Regions from separate parts of the Homo sapiens genome. Here all the other regions are linked to region 4. The links are contacts of gene promoters, found by promoter capture Hi-C in blood cells and fetal thymus (Javierre and others, 2016). All regions are on one chromosome and are shown on one strand. Each heading gives the region's core, a stretch centred on a gene start or on the middle of the fragment in contact. The rest is flanking DNA. Distances are from core to core; before and after follow the strand shown. Region 1 has its middle 110 kb from the start of LINC01179. Region 2 has its middle 130 kb from the start of MIR578. Region 3 has its middle 73 kb from the start of LINC01179. Region 4 holds the start of TLL1 (tolloid like 1).

What was found. Contacts are between HindIII fragments. The CHiCAGO score rates a contact against its expected background, and 5 or more counts as called.
Region 1: a fragment that was not itself captured here is called in contact with the fragment with the promoter of TLL1 in region 4 in 1 of 17 cell types (endothelial precursors); the score reaches 6.5 in endothelial precursors.
Region 2: a contact is called between a fragment that was not itself captured here and the fragment with the promoter of TLL1 in region 4, in 1 of 17 cell types (endothelial precursors). The highest score is 9.1, in endothelial precursors.
Region 3: a contact is called between a fragment that was not itself captured here and the fragment with the promoter of TLL1 in region 4, in 1 of 17 cell types (endothelial precursors). The highest score is 8.5, in endothelial precursors.

Annotation. Positions count from the first base shown.
Region 1 is chr4:165,573,494-165,576,441 of GRCh38, reverse strand. No RefSeq gene overlaps it. Among named protein-coding and RNA genes, the nearest start is that of LINC01179, 110 kb to the left of the region's middle. The HindIII fragment of the contact is 1,839 bases long and covers 687-2,525 here.
Region 2 is chr4:165,515,834-165,518,658 of GRCh38, reverse strand. It overlaps the pseudogene SCGB1D5P. Among named protein-coding and RNA genes, the nearest start is that of MIR578, 130 kb to the right of the region's middle. The HindIII fragment of the contact is 3,359 bases long and covers 1-2,825 here.
Region 3 is chr4:165,610,224-165,613,353 of GRCh38, reverse strand. No RefSeq gene overlaps it. Among named protein-coding and RNA genes, the nearest start is that of LINC01179, 73 kb to the left of the region's middle. The HindIII fragment of the contact is 1,033 bases long and covers 932-1,964 here.
Region 4 is chr4:165,871,798-165,874,936 of GRCh38, reverse strand. It overlaps TLL1 (tolloid like 1), which reads right to left and starts at 1,700. Exons shown (of 21, transcript NM_012464.5): 1 at 864-1,700. The coding sequence starts at 1,032. The HindIII fragment of the contact is 7,346 bases long and covers 1-2,642 here.

The sequences.
Region 1 (2,948 bases), core at 357-2,856, 300 kb after region 4:
CCCATCTCCTGCCTAAGGGATGGGATTGGAGTGGGTAAAGGGCTGGTAGGTGGCTCTACCTATTGTTTCTCTAATTCTTTTCTTTTTTTTTCCTGCTGGTCCGGTCCACACTCAGAATTGTCCTCAGCTGTGTCTAGCGTCTCCTCATTCTAGACCCTGTCTTACTCATTATTTTTCTGGAAAATAAATCTCCATTCTCCCGCCAGATAAATATATGTGTATGTGGAAAGGTCAGGGGGCAAGTGGAGGTTAGTTGGGAGTGATCATTGCTGGTTGTGCCAGATACTGGGGAAATTTTTCAGGTTTAGATCTCGTGTACCCCATAGATGTATGCACCTACTATGTACCCACAAAAATTAAAAAGTATTTTTAAAAACCCAGATTTACATGTTCTTTATACAGACTCTTAATCTTCTCATTTTCCTTCTTACCGGTCAAACTCATGCTTTCAGAGGAATCTGGTCCCTGAAATTCCAGAGCTTTTTCTGGGGTCCTGATAGGTAAATCATTCTGTTTCTTGTTGGCTTCCCCAAGCCATTTACCACACAACTTTCTTGGAGGAGGCAGGGCGAATACAGCACACACACAGAAAATTATGGATATAGGAACTATTATTTTTTAAAAAAATAAACATGTACCTGCCTCTCAGCCTAATAAACAGAGCATTACTGATGCTTTTTGAAGCTTTCCTTGGAGAGTCCCTTCCCAGTCACTTCCCCTTCTTCTGTTCTGAGTATAATTATCATGTCAATGGCTTGTGCTCATCATGACCTTGCTTCTTCATATAGTGTCTCTGCATACACTATACATGTTACTGCTAAATAACATACTTTTTAATTCTACTTAATTTTTAACAGTATATATTATATATATTAATATATATTACATATAAACATTATATAGAGTTTATATATAATATTATATATATTGTGTTTATATATATATAATATTATATGTATAGTGTTGGCTGGGCACAGTGGCTCATGCCTGTAATCTCTTGGCACATTGGGAGGCCAAGGCAGTCACCTGAGGTCAAGAGTTCGAGACCAGCCTGGCCAACATGGTGAAACTCCGTCTCTACTAAAATTACAAATATTAGCCAGGCATGGTGGCACATGCCTGTAATCCCAGGTACTAGGTGGGGCTGAGGCAGGAGAATCTCTTGAGCCTAGGAGGCAGAGGTTGCAGTGAGCTGAGATGACACCATTGCACTCCAGCCTGGGTGACAAGAGCGAAACTTTGTCTCAAAAAAAAAAAAGAAGTATGTTATTCATATATATATATATGGAATTATGCCATTTATATTTGGGAGTTCATTTATTTGTTCTTTTGACTGTTGATGCAAAATTGAGTTGATCCAGTATTTGCTGGCATGTCTTCTGGCGCACACTTGCAAGAATTTTTCCGAAGAATTAGACATAATATTATAGGACTGTGTGAATTTGTACCTTCAGCTTTATTAGGCAATTCCAAATTGTTGTCCAGGGGTTGTACCAATTTACATTCCCCCAAAATACATTCACTTCCCAGTGTTCTTCATCCTCTCCAATGGTAATGTTGCCACACTTGCTTTGCAACTTCCTAAATTTGGTTGACATCTCTCATATGTTGTGTGTGGTTCTTTTTTGTCTTTGGTGAATTTCTTTTTTTTTTTTTTTTTTTTTTTTTTTTTTTTTTTGAGACGGAGTCTCGCTGTGTCGCCCAGGCTGGAGTGCAGTGGCGCGATCTCAGCTAACTGCAAGCTCCGCCTCCTGGGTTCATGCCATTCTCCTGCCTCAGCCTCCAGAGTAGCTGGGACTACAGGTGCCCGCCACCACACCCGGCTATTTTTTTTTTGTTTGTTTTAGTATTTTTTGTAGAGACGGGGTTTCACCGTGTTAACCAGGACGGTCTCAATCTCCTAACCTCGTGATCCGCCTGCCTCGGCCTCCCAAAGTGATGAGATTACAAGTGTGAGCCACCGTGCCCAGCCTGGCGAATTTCTACTTTACTTATTTTGCTCTGCTGTCATTTTAATGGGCTTTCAGAAGGAAACAGAGGTAAATGAATGCAAACAACCCATCATATTTAACTGGAAGATCCACATAGGAGTCTTTATTCCTTATTTCAGAAAAGTAAAATAACTTACAAGAAAGGGAAAATAACTTTTTATTTACCTTGTTGCTCTCGAACAAAGATAATTTACAACATTAAGCCTTCGTGGGAGCTATTCAAATCAATAGTTTTAAAGTTATAAACTGATAAAGCCTATTAGGAGTGTTGGTTAGGGGTGGTAATTCAAAGAAGGTAAGAATTACAAAGAATTCTCAGCAGCCCCTTTGAATTGCTGCTGTGCCCAAAATATTGGAAGGAAAACATGTGGGGTTTTTTTTTAAGTTAATAGATAAATAACAGTTTGCTTTCCTCATGTTTGTGCCGTATTGCCTTCTCCTGTTCCGAGGAAAATGTCTCCACAGCTTTTTGCATATTCCTTCCAAATGTTTGAATAGCAGTTTTGTGTCTTCTCTTTTATTACTAACCAAGCTTTTCCTCATTAATATCTATCTCTCTTTTACATCTAGGCTACTCATTTTTACTGCCATATAATTTTCTTTGTATAAATATCTCACAATTTTATTTGTTCTTTCTACTGTTGATAAATAATTGAGATGATCCATTTTTTGCTGGCAAACAACAACTTAAATACTAAAATAGACCCTAGATTTAGGGCCATGATATTCAAATAATAAGAAAAATGTATTAGCTCAAGTAACTAAATACTCCAGATGCAGCTTTGTGTTCTAAGGCTATTCATTTTTATATAGCTTTGAGTCCTAATTCAGTAGTTCAAATCATGTCAGTGGGAACCCAAATTTTCTCCTCTCCATTCTTTTTCTGCCATGTTGGTGTCAACCTCAGGTTTTATCAAATGCTTTTTCTTGCACTCACACCTGGACTGGCTCTTGGGG
Region 2 (2,825 bases), core at 106-2,605, 360 kb after region 4:
TCAAAGTAAAATATTGAGCATATTATAATATAATGTGTATATATTTAAGAGATAGTATAACACAATTCTGGGTGTAACTGTATAAGAGATAAAGGAAATATGAGTAAACTAATTGATGACTTTCATTGCATTTTATAAATTGGAATCTTTCCTAGAAAAGGAAAAACATATTGATTACAAAAACATTGGTTACAAAATCAGTCTTTCCAGGCCAGGTTCAGTGGCTAATACCTGTAATACCAGTGCTTTGAGAGGCCAAGGTGAGAGAATGGCTTGAAGCCAGGAGTTTGAGACCAGCCTGGGCACCAAAATGAGACTCCATCTCCACACACACACACAAAATAATAATAATTAGCTGGGCATGGTGCTGTGTGCCTGTAGTTGTAGCTACTCGAGAGGCTGTGGTGAAAGGAGCCCTTAAGCCCAAGGGTGCAGTGAGCTGTGATCAGACCATTGTACTCCATCCTGGGCAACAGGGTAAGACCTTGTCACACACACACACACACACACACACACACAAATCAATCTTTTCCCATGAAAAGGAGAATGGTTAGACAAACTATGTTTCATGAACATTTGTTAAACTTATTTGAGTCCTAGCCATTTCAACAAGATCAGGGAAAAATTAACCAATCCATTAGAAAAAATATACACACGCTCCTCACCATAAATCAGAGCTAAAGTGTAGGTCATACCTCAGAATTTCATACTTAGATTCTTAAGTTAACATTCTCCTAGGATAATGTGGTGGTGTAATATATTTCTGAATTATATTTCTTTTTTTTTTTTTTTGAGACAGACTCTTTCTCTGCCACCCAGGCTGGAGTGCAGTGGAGCTATCTCAGCTCACTGCAATCTCTGTCTCCTGGGTTCAAGCAATTCTCCTACCTCAGCCTCCCACGTAGCTAGGATTGCAGGTGCCCGCCACCATGCCCAGCTAATTTTTGCATTTTTAGTAGAGATGGGGTTTCACCATGTTGGCCAAGCTGGTCTTGAACTCCTGACCTTAGGTGATCCACCCATCTCGGCTTCCCGAAGTGCTGGGATTACAGGCATAATCCACCACATCTGGCCTCTGAATTATATTTCTAACAGGTAGATAATGTGGAATACTGGGGAGATCAAGGCTTGGTAGCAGACAAAGCAAAATAAGATGCCATGAGGCTGTCAGTCTGCCTCCTACTACTCATTCTGGCCTTTTGCTGCTAGGAGGCCAATGCAGTGCTCTGTCCAGCCCTTGCTACTAAAATCACAGGCTTCTTATTCACTCAGGATCCTCTGTTCAAGTTACAACTTGCCAATCTTAATGCACTTCTGGAAGCTATTGCTGCCAAGATGGCAGTGAAGAAACGCACAGACAAGATGTCCCTTGGGAACAGACTCTTAATTTTAAAAATATTGGTGAAAATATTGGTGAAATTTAATCTCTGAGGTGTAAAAACTCTTTTATCCTGGTTTCCACTGTCTTTCAGTGATACCCTGATCCTCACTGCAGAATGCAAAGGTTTCAGCTTCTTGCTTTAATAAATTATTGCCCTGCAAAAATAGATACATAGAGAGAGAGACTTGGTAGCAGAAAGGTCTGGGTTTTACTGCTGTCTCTGCCATTTTTACAACCTTGAGAGAATTACTTAATCTCCCTGAGCCTCAGTTTTGTCATCTATAAAATGGGGATTATGCAGTATGTTGTGCAGATTAAATGAAGTAGAAAAAATACCTGGTATATAGTGGGTGCCTAATTATCTACTTTCCTCCATGCTTTCCCCAAGCCCCCTAACCATATACACAGCCAACTTGACAGTTTCAAGATGCCCTTGACCTGATAATGTACCCAAATAACTAATTTCAATTGCTTTTCATAGAGCCAGTCTGCTGGACTAAATTGACTCTTCAAGTGAGTTGAAACAGTTAAACTGACAGTTATGAAAAAGCCTTAAAGTCAAACAGAACATTATAGCAGATTTTACGGGGGATTAAGATTGCTTCTGTTGTTCTCTTTGAAGAGAACGGATGGCGTGACTGAACACAAATCCTCACGGTGCTCCTGGGCACTTTGCAATATGAAACGTGTTGGATGATTGCTTCACTGTGTTATAATACATCTGCCATCAGCTTCAAGGTGAGCACTCTATTATTTTTACAGCTGTACTCCTTTTCCTGGAATTTTGAAATTTCAAGAGGAAAACAACAATTTCAGATCTGTGGAGCAAAGGTAGGTGTGATCTTGTAATCTCTTAGCTCATCCTACTGGGTTGGCATAGGCCAGAAACCTACGGAAATGGGACTGAATCCAAGCTGAAGTCTTGGACTGCCATACATCAGCCTAAGAGCTCTTGGATGAAATGCTAGAGAGAGCCTCATCACCTGTGCTTTTGATGGATGGAAGCACTACTTCAGTAGAGCTGAGGGCTTCCCTGCAGATGTATAAAGGTTACAGATCTTGCTCCCGCCATGTGCCAACTGATCCAATCCCAAGACCTCCCAATTACTCCCACCTGGTCCTGCTGCTTCATCCCACTGGTGGCTCCCTCCGTATTTCCTCCCACTGCGGACATCCCACTTTCCAGATGCTCTGTTTGCCATTGTTTCCACTGAGAGATGCTCCAGCAGGTTGGAGCACTGGTTGGGACATGGCTAGTGAGAGCATTTTGTGTTATAAATGTACTTACATGTATTTGTGTTACAATCATATGAGTTCTATTCTTGGCTCAGGCTCTGGTGATTGTGAACAGGTGACTTACTTACAGTTAGCCAAACTGCAAAGTTGGAGGACATGGTCCTTCAGACTGCCAAGTCCACTCAAGACTTTCTGACACCAACGGCAA
Region 3 (3,130 bases), core at 199-2,698, 260 kb after region 4:
AGTCACCCAAATTGTGGTATTAATACTTCATTCCAGCAGCCTTTGGAAACTAATACACATACATTTATTTACTATAGTTAAAATGAAAGTGAACCTTCTCATTCATCCCTAAACTAGACTAGAAAACAGAAAGCTATGTAGGCAAAACTCAGTTATGCTAATTGTAGTTTCCTTTCTCATCAGTGGTTCTCAGCCAGAGGAGATAGGCCACCCAGGGGATATTTGGCAACGTCTGGAGACATTATTGGTTGTCACAGCAGGGGGAGTTGCTACTAGCAACTGGTGGGTCTACAGGCCAGGGTTGCTGTTACACAACCTACAAGGCACAACTCAGCCCCTCACAGCAAAGTACTCATTGATAAACTCAGTTTCTGATGATATCAGACCAATTTTTTCTTTATACATAATGAACTGCTATTTTCATTCAACAAATAGTTGAGTGCCTACTGTATTTCATGTGTGTGCACATAAAAGGACCTTTGTTAAAATATATATTCACTTAAATGTCATGAACAACAAGTGCAATGTGAGACGCCACATGCTACAAAAAGTGATTCCTCTGCCAGTGTCATGCTCGTTTGCTTACCGCACCATGCTTATTTAACTAATGTGACGTTCATTATTCTGTTACAGTTTTGCAATTTAAAGTAACATATCACTCCTTCCATGAAATACCTTCTAAATCCTCTGTAATAAATTAGCATGTGTCTGAAGAAAGTAACTGTTCAGAAGCTGGTTTGGGATTTCCTGTTATTGTAAACCTTGTGGGAGGTGACCCAGGCTCAGAGAAAAGAAATTAACAGACAAGCTGCCCGCTACATTCTAACGGACTGGATTGAGACCACATATTTGGTGGTCTCTCTCCTGGTCTCCTGTGCAGTCTTCCTCGTATAGTGTATCTGTCTTCCTAGTTCACAAAGGGATTAAAGCTTTTGTTCGTCCTTTTGAAATACTCCACATCCATCTGACATATATTTAAATGTTTTTGCTCTACTGTCAGAAAAAGTTAAATACTGAATCTTTCTTTAGATAACGTGCAAAGTGTTAATAGGGTTTTTTTTTCTTTGATGAGTTTAAATTCAAATTTCAAATTGAGATGACTGGTGAAAAGATGTCATGTGGTTTCATATAAATGCCTGATGGTCTTTTATCCACATTAGCCATTGTGTATTTGAATCTGATGGACAGTTTTTCTTAAAAAGAAAAAAGATTGGGTCCTAAATAACCCACAGATCAGAATAAAATGCATTGGCAAGTTTGCTTCATGCTGTTAGCGTTTACTCATTTATTTACCATCCAAGTTTATAATATATTTGACTAAGAGGAATCTGTCAACAGCTCCTGCTACCTATGAAAGGGGACCATTTTCTTCCACATAAATGTTTTAGAGCCATTGACCTAATTAATAATAACTCTAAGTTGAAGAGTTTAAATATTAAACTCTTCAAGTTTACAGGGTAATGATTTATTGCAGACAAAAGAAGTTGGGTACTTTTCAAAATTGAAGAACAAACACCTATATTATATACAACAAAAGTGTTGCATTAACTCAAGATATTATGACCTCATGTCACATTTTCAGTTGAATATTATGTCTTTGGAAGAATGTTATAAGCCATGTGACAAGCGTAAATGGAATGAAGAAATCTTTCAACTCCCAGAGGTAGGAGGTCCAAGTCTTTTTGTTTTATATGTTTTTTATAGTGCTTTCGCTGCAGCTTTGAAATGCTGTAAATAAAAGAATAAATTTTAAATGCCACCTAGAAAAACGTTTGTATGTGTCTGCTGTTTACTTATTTGTTTGCTTGTCTCTTGGGAGCATGAGCTCCTCAGGACTCCTGTCAAATACCAGTCTTATTCCCAAAAAAAACAGTGTTTCCTCAGGGAAAATAAGTAAATCCTTTCACCATCACAGAATGAGAAATAAACTAAAGGATGACAGAGATGCATGGAGTGTGTAAGCTTTCATATAAATGCTGTCAGCATAAATTAGGTGTGGTGAGGAATAGAGAAATAGCAGTAGCACCAGAAAGAGTTATGTGCAGGCTTAAGCTGAAAAGAGAATGAGAGAATAAAAAGACAACAGTACATAGTGTAAAGCTTGGAAAGGGCAGCCTGCAGGGAAAAGAAATGTGAAAGATTTTATTGTCGTGCAGGACACAGAGCATGAACAGGCTGCAAGAAAAGGAGAGCGCCAAAGAAGAAAGTCAACCAGAAATAAAAAGTACAGGACAAAGGGCTCGTGAATGTCTAAGGATTCACAGCAAAAGCAGCAAAGCCTCGTTAGAGGAACTGGAATTGAATAGAGATTGAATGAACCTGAAAAGGGGTCTGAGCACACTCTCTAACACAGAAAAGACAACAACAATAGGTGAAGATACACAGGTCACAAAAGCAGCTTTGAAATGCTGGCATCACCAACAGGGTTATTCCCTTAATAATAGTAGACACAGAACTACTATAAACTCCCTGATGTGAAGAGCTCAATGATGTAAAATGAAACTGAAACCTCTATAATATACATCTAATGTATTCTTCTATTTAAGTGATGTTCTTATCAGTTTCATTATTGCAGTCAATTTGATTATTGTCAAAGTATCCGTTTTCATTAAAGTTGCCATGTAAATCTCTAATTCGTTTAGCATCTAAGGTAGAAGTACTTGAGTGGACTTCTTTGAATAAGTGATAGCAGTGATGACAGATAATGGTGCTACTTTGATTGCTTTTGTTTACACTCTTAACTACTATTAAAAAGGACAGATTAAATATATAGCACCCCAAAATGGCTACATGAAATTGTTTTTAACTTGATAACCTCCCTTCTATGGAAGGTGATAGGTCCTCAAGCAGTCAGAGAAATTGAACTGATTTACTTATCCTCACATTACCCTGCTCCAGATTTTCCTTATCTTGTTGATTAGAGTCAGAAATTGCTTAGCGGTGGCTGACAATGCGTATATTATTTCTGGCACAACACAGAACAACATGGAAAAGTTCCATTGAGTTCTTTATGGCCAGTGAAAGTATTCTTGGGCAAATATTTTATATTCATGCAGGGCTTGTTTTACAACAGGTATTTATTCAGTCACTCATCTCATATTCATTGAGTTAAAACCTATGATCTGGCAGA
Region 4 (3,139 bases), core at 451-2,950:
CGCTCACGTGGTAGCGGCCCCGGGCACGTGCGCCTCCGACCTTAGGCGGCGAGAGGGAAGCGCCGCCCCGCGCGCGCGAGAGGCTGGCAGCGGCGCCAGAGGCGTAGAAGGGAGGGGAAGGACCTGGGACATTCAGGGACCCTGCGAGGCAAGAAGCTGAGCTTCAGGCAGTGCCGGTCCGACTGCATTTCCCTGGGGTGTTAGCTGGAAGGAAGACACAAATTTGAATGGGGTAGCAACTTAAAAACATTTTTCTTTTCAGTTTATTTTAAATGGGCAAATGCATCAGAATCCCATCTAGAAGTGAGTTCTTCCGAGATTGTCACAATCCCTTTCTAGCCTGGAACCCACACTTGAAATTCCTGGTAAAAGAGGGAGCCAAGGTGTCTCCAGGTAGCAATGCCATCCTCCTGTATCTTTTGGGGAACCCTGCCAACTCGCTCTCGAACAAGCGCTGGGAAACCGCGCCCTGGGGGAGAGGGGAAAGAAGACGGTGTCCCTTCCATATGCATAAAGCCCGCTGAGTGTTGGAATTTAAAACCTACAGCAGCAAGCTATATTTACGACTTGTTTCGTTTTGCTGGGGGAGGGGAGAGGGATCAGAAACTCTAGGACCTTATTCCCAAACTGGGAGATGGGAGCTTGGCAGTGGATCCCACTGGCACAGAACTCTAGTCAACTGGGGCCGCAGCGGCTGCCACTTGCGGGTGGGGAAGGGAAGGAAAAGGAGGGGGAGAGAAGGAGGGGCGGCGGAGGGGCTGACGCGGGAGGGAAGGAAACAGGTGAGCTCCCACCGCCACCCATGGGAAACCCAGCGCAGCGGCCCCCGGCGCGCCACCGTCCCAACCTGGAGAGCCACTTACCGGCTTTACACGGGTCCTTGTAATCTATAGTCTCTGTTTTATCCTCTTCGTTCCCATCAAAAGTGTAATCATAATCGAGGCCAGCGCAGACCCATAGCTCCCCGTAGAAAACAATCCCCGAGGCCACCAGCCACACGAGCATCCTCGGGGAAAGCGTTCCCAACCCCATCCTCCTCCCCCGGAGGAAAAGGAGGGGACGGGACCCAGAGGTTAGGCAGCCGCGGTCCGCGCTGATGTGCGGGGCTAGGGGCACCGGTGCTCTTCTCCCCACCCGGAGGCTCCTCGGCGGGACCGGGGTGCTCAGGTGTCCGGAAACATGTGGATGCCGCCGGGACAGTAGAGAGGGCAAGCACTGCCTGTTACCCCCAGTCGCAGGGAGAAGTTGGCTAGGGGCCCACGGGTGGGCGGAGGGCAGGTAAGGAACTCTGCACTCGGAGGCGGGGAGGGCGCAGGCAAACTCGGCTCTGGCGGCGCTGGCGCTCGCAGCCTGCCAGGTCGTCCTTCTGGCTGCCGAACTTCCCGCGGCCGCGGCTCGGCGAGCGGCGCCCCGCGGGCTCAGCTGCCACCAGAGCTCGGACTCCCGCGCCGCGTCCCCGCTGCTGCCAGGACTCCGCGGCCGAGCGCGAGCCGCCGCCGCCTGAGCCCAAAGCCGCCGCCGCAGCTCCGAGAAGATGAATCCGGTCTGCACATCAGCACATCTGAATTGAAAGGGGAGACCGAGGAAGGGGGTGGGGGCCAGGCATTTCTACGCCGCGAGACCTTAAAAGCCTGCAGAAGCCAGCAAAGCAACTGACTGCAAGAGAGCAAAAGTGTGAGGATTTGGGGATGCACTGTTTGCCTTCCCCCCGCCAGCCTGTCTTTTTACCCTCTTCCTAACTTGAAAAAAAAAAATATTCGCACCATCTAACCCAATCACTTGCATCCTGCTTACTTATTCATACAATCAGGGTCAGGATCCGGACCACAGCCTCCTCTCTTGACTTCTTTTGATAGCCTTAGACAAACAAACAGACAGGAGCGCGCTGACAATTCCATTTATATTTTACCAAAGATAAAAATGAATATATTATGTATCTGTGTACGCAAACAGCAATTAATAGATGATGTACGTGTCAGTTGAGAGTGCCAGACCGGGGGTGGAGCGAAGGATCGTGATAACTTAGCTGCAAATCCATATTTCCCCTCCCCCCAAATAAACAGCGAGTGTGTATTTCTTTCCTTTGCTGCTGTTTAACCTTAGAGCAGCGCAGGAATGGAGGAAAAGTGTGCGAGTCTTCACGATTTTGGTAAGAAAATAAACAGACTACTGTTGGTCTCCTAACCAACAAAGTTTTGCTAAGAACTAAGATCCTCAGAACTGCAATTAAAAAAAAAATCCAAAATCGAGTTACAGATTGCAGCAGCAGGAAACGCTGAGACCTTGCCGATGGGCTGGCGCTATGGCTCACGTGGGCGCAGGAAGGGAAGCTGGATGGAATACTCGGGAAGCAAATTTTCTGTGACAGTTCTGGCGCCCATGAGCAGAGTTGCTCAGTATCCTTCGGCTTCAGTAATGTTTTACTTCTTCAGAGGAGAGGGTGTAAAACCTGGCAGGAGGGTCAGCGAGGTAAACCACATGTCAGCCGAGCAGACTCAAGACAAACACAGGTTGTGGGAAATTGGGGAGGAAAAAAATCAGAGGAAATCTCTGTAAAACCCCTGTTGTGAGCAATTCCGAGGTTTCCCCACATCTGCAAGTAGTTTCCAAAATAGGTGAGATGACTTCTCCCCCAACAAGCTTCCAAGGGACTGGTGATTGGGAGCTTTCCTTTTCCAACTAAATCTTTAAAACTGTCACTTTAGCAAGGACTTGTAAAAAAAAAAAAAGCCTTACATATTATTTGACTAGTGTTCCCCCTATCCAAGTTATCATCTAGAGGAATGTATGAAGGTAAACACACACACACACACACACACACACACACACACACACACACAACTTTGACAGATAAAGTCATCTTTGGTTTGGAGATTTTACTAGGTTTTATTCATGTTTGTTAGAGAAAAGTAAGAAGCCAATCTTGAAAAAGTACCAAGTATTTTCAACTTAAACTAAAAGTATAGGAAGGCTAGGTGGAACTGAACTGACCAAGTGTTCTTTGCAAAACTGGGTCTTTCTCAGAGGCCACTGCAATGATGGAGCTTCCCTTCCATAGATCTTAAGCTTTTAATGCCCAGGATACAGAGCAGAAGTAGATTTTTAAAAAGAACATGTTCAATAAGCAGGTAGAGGCGTT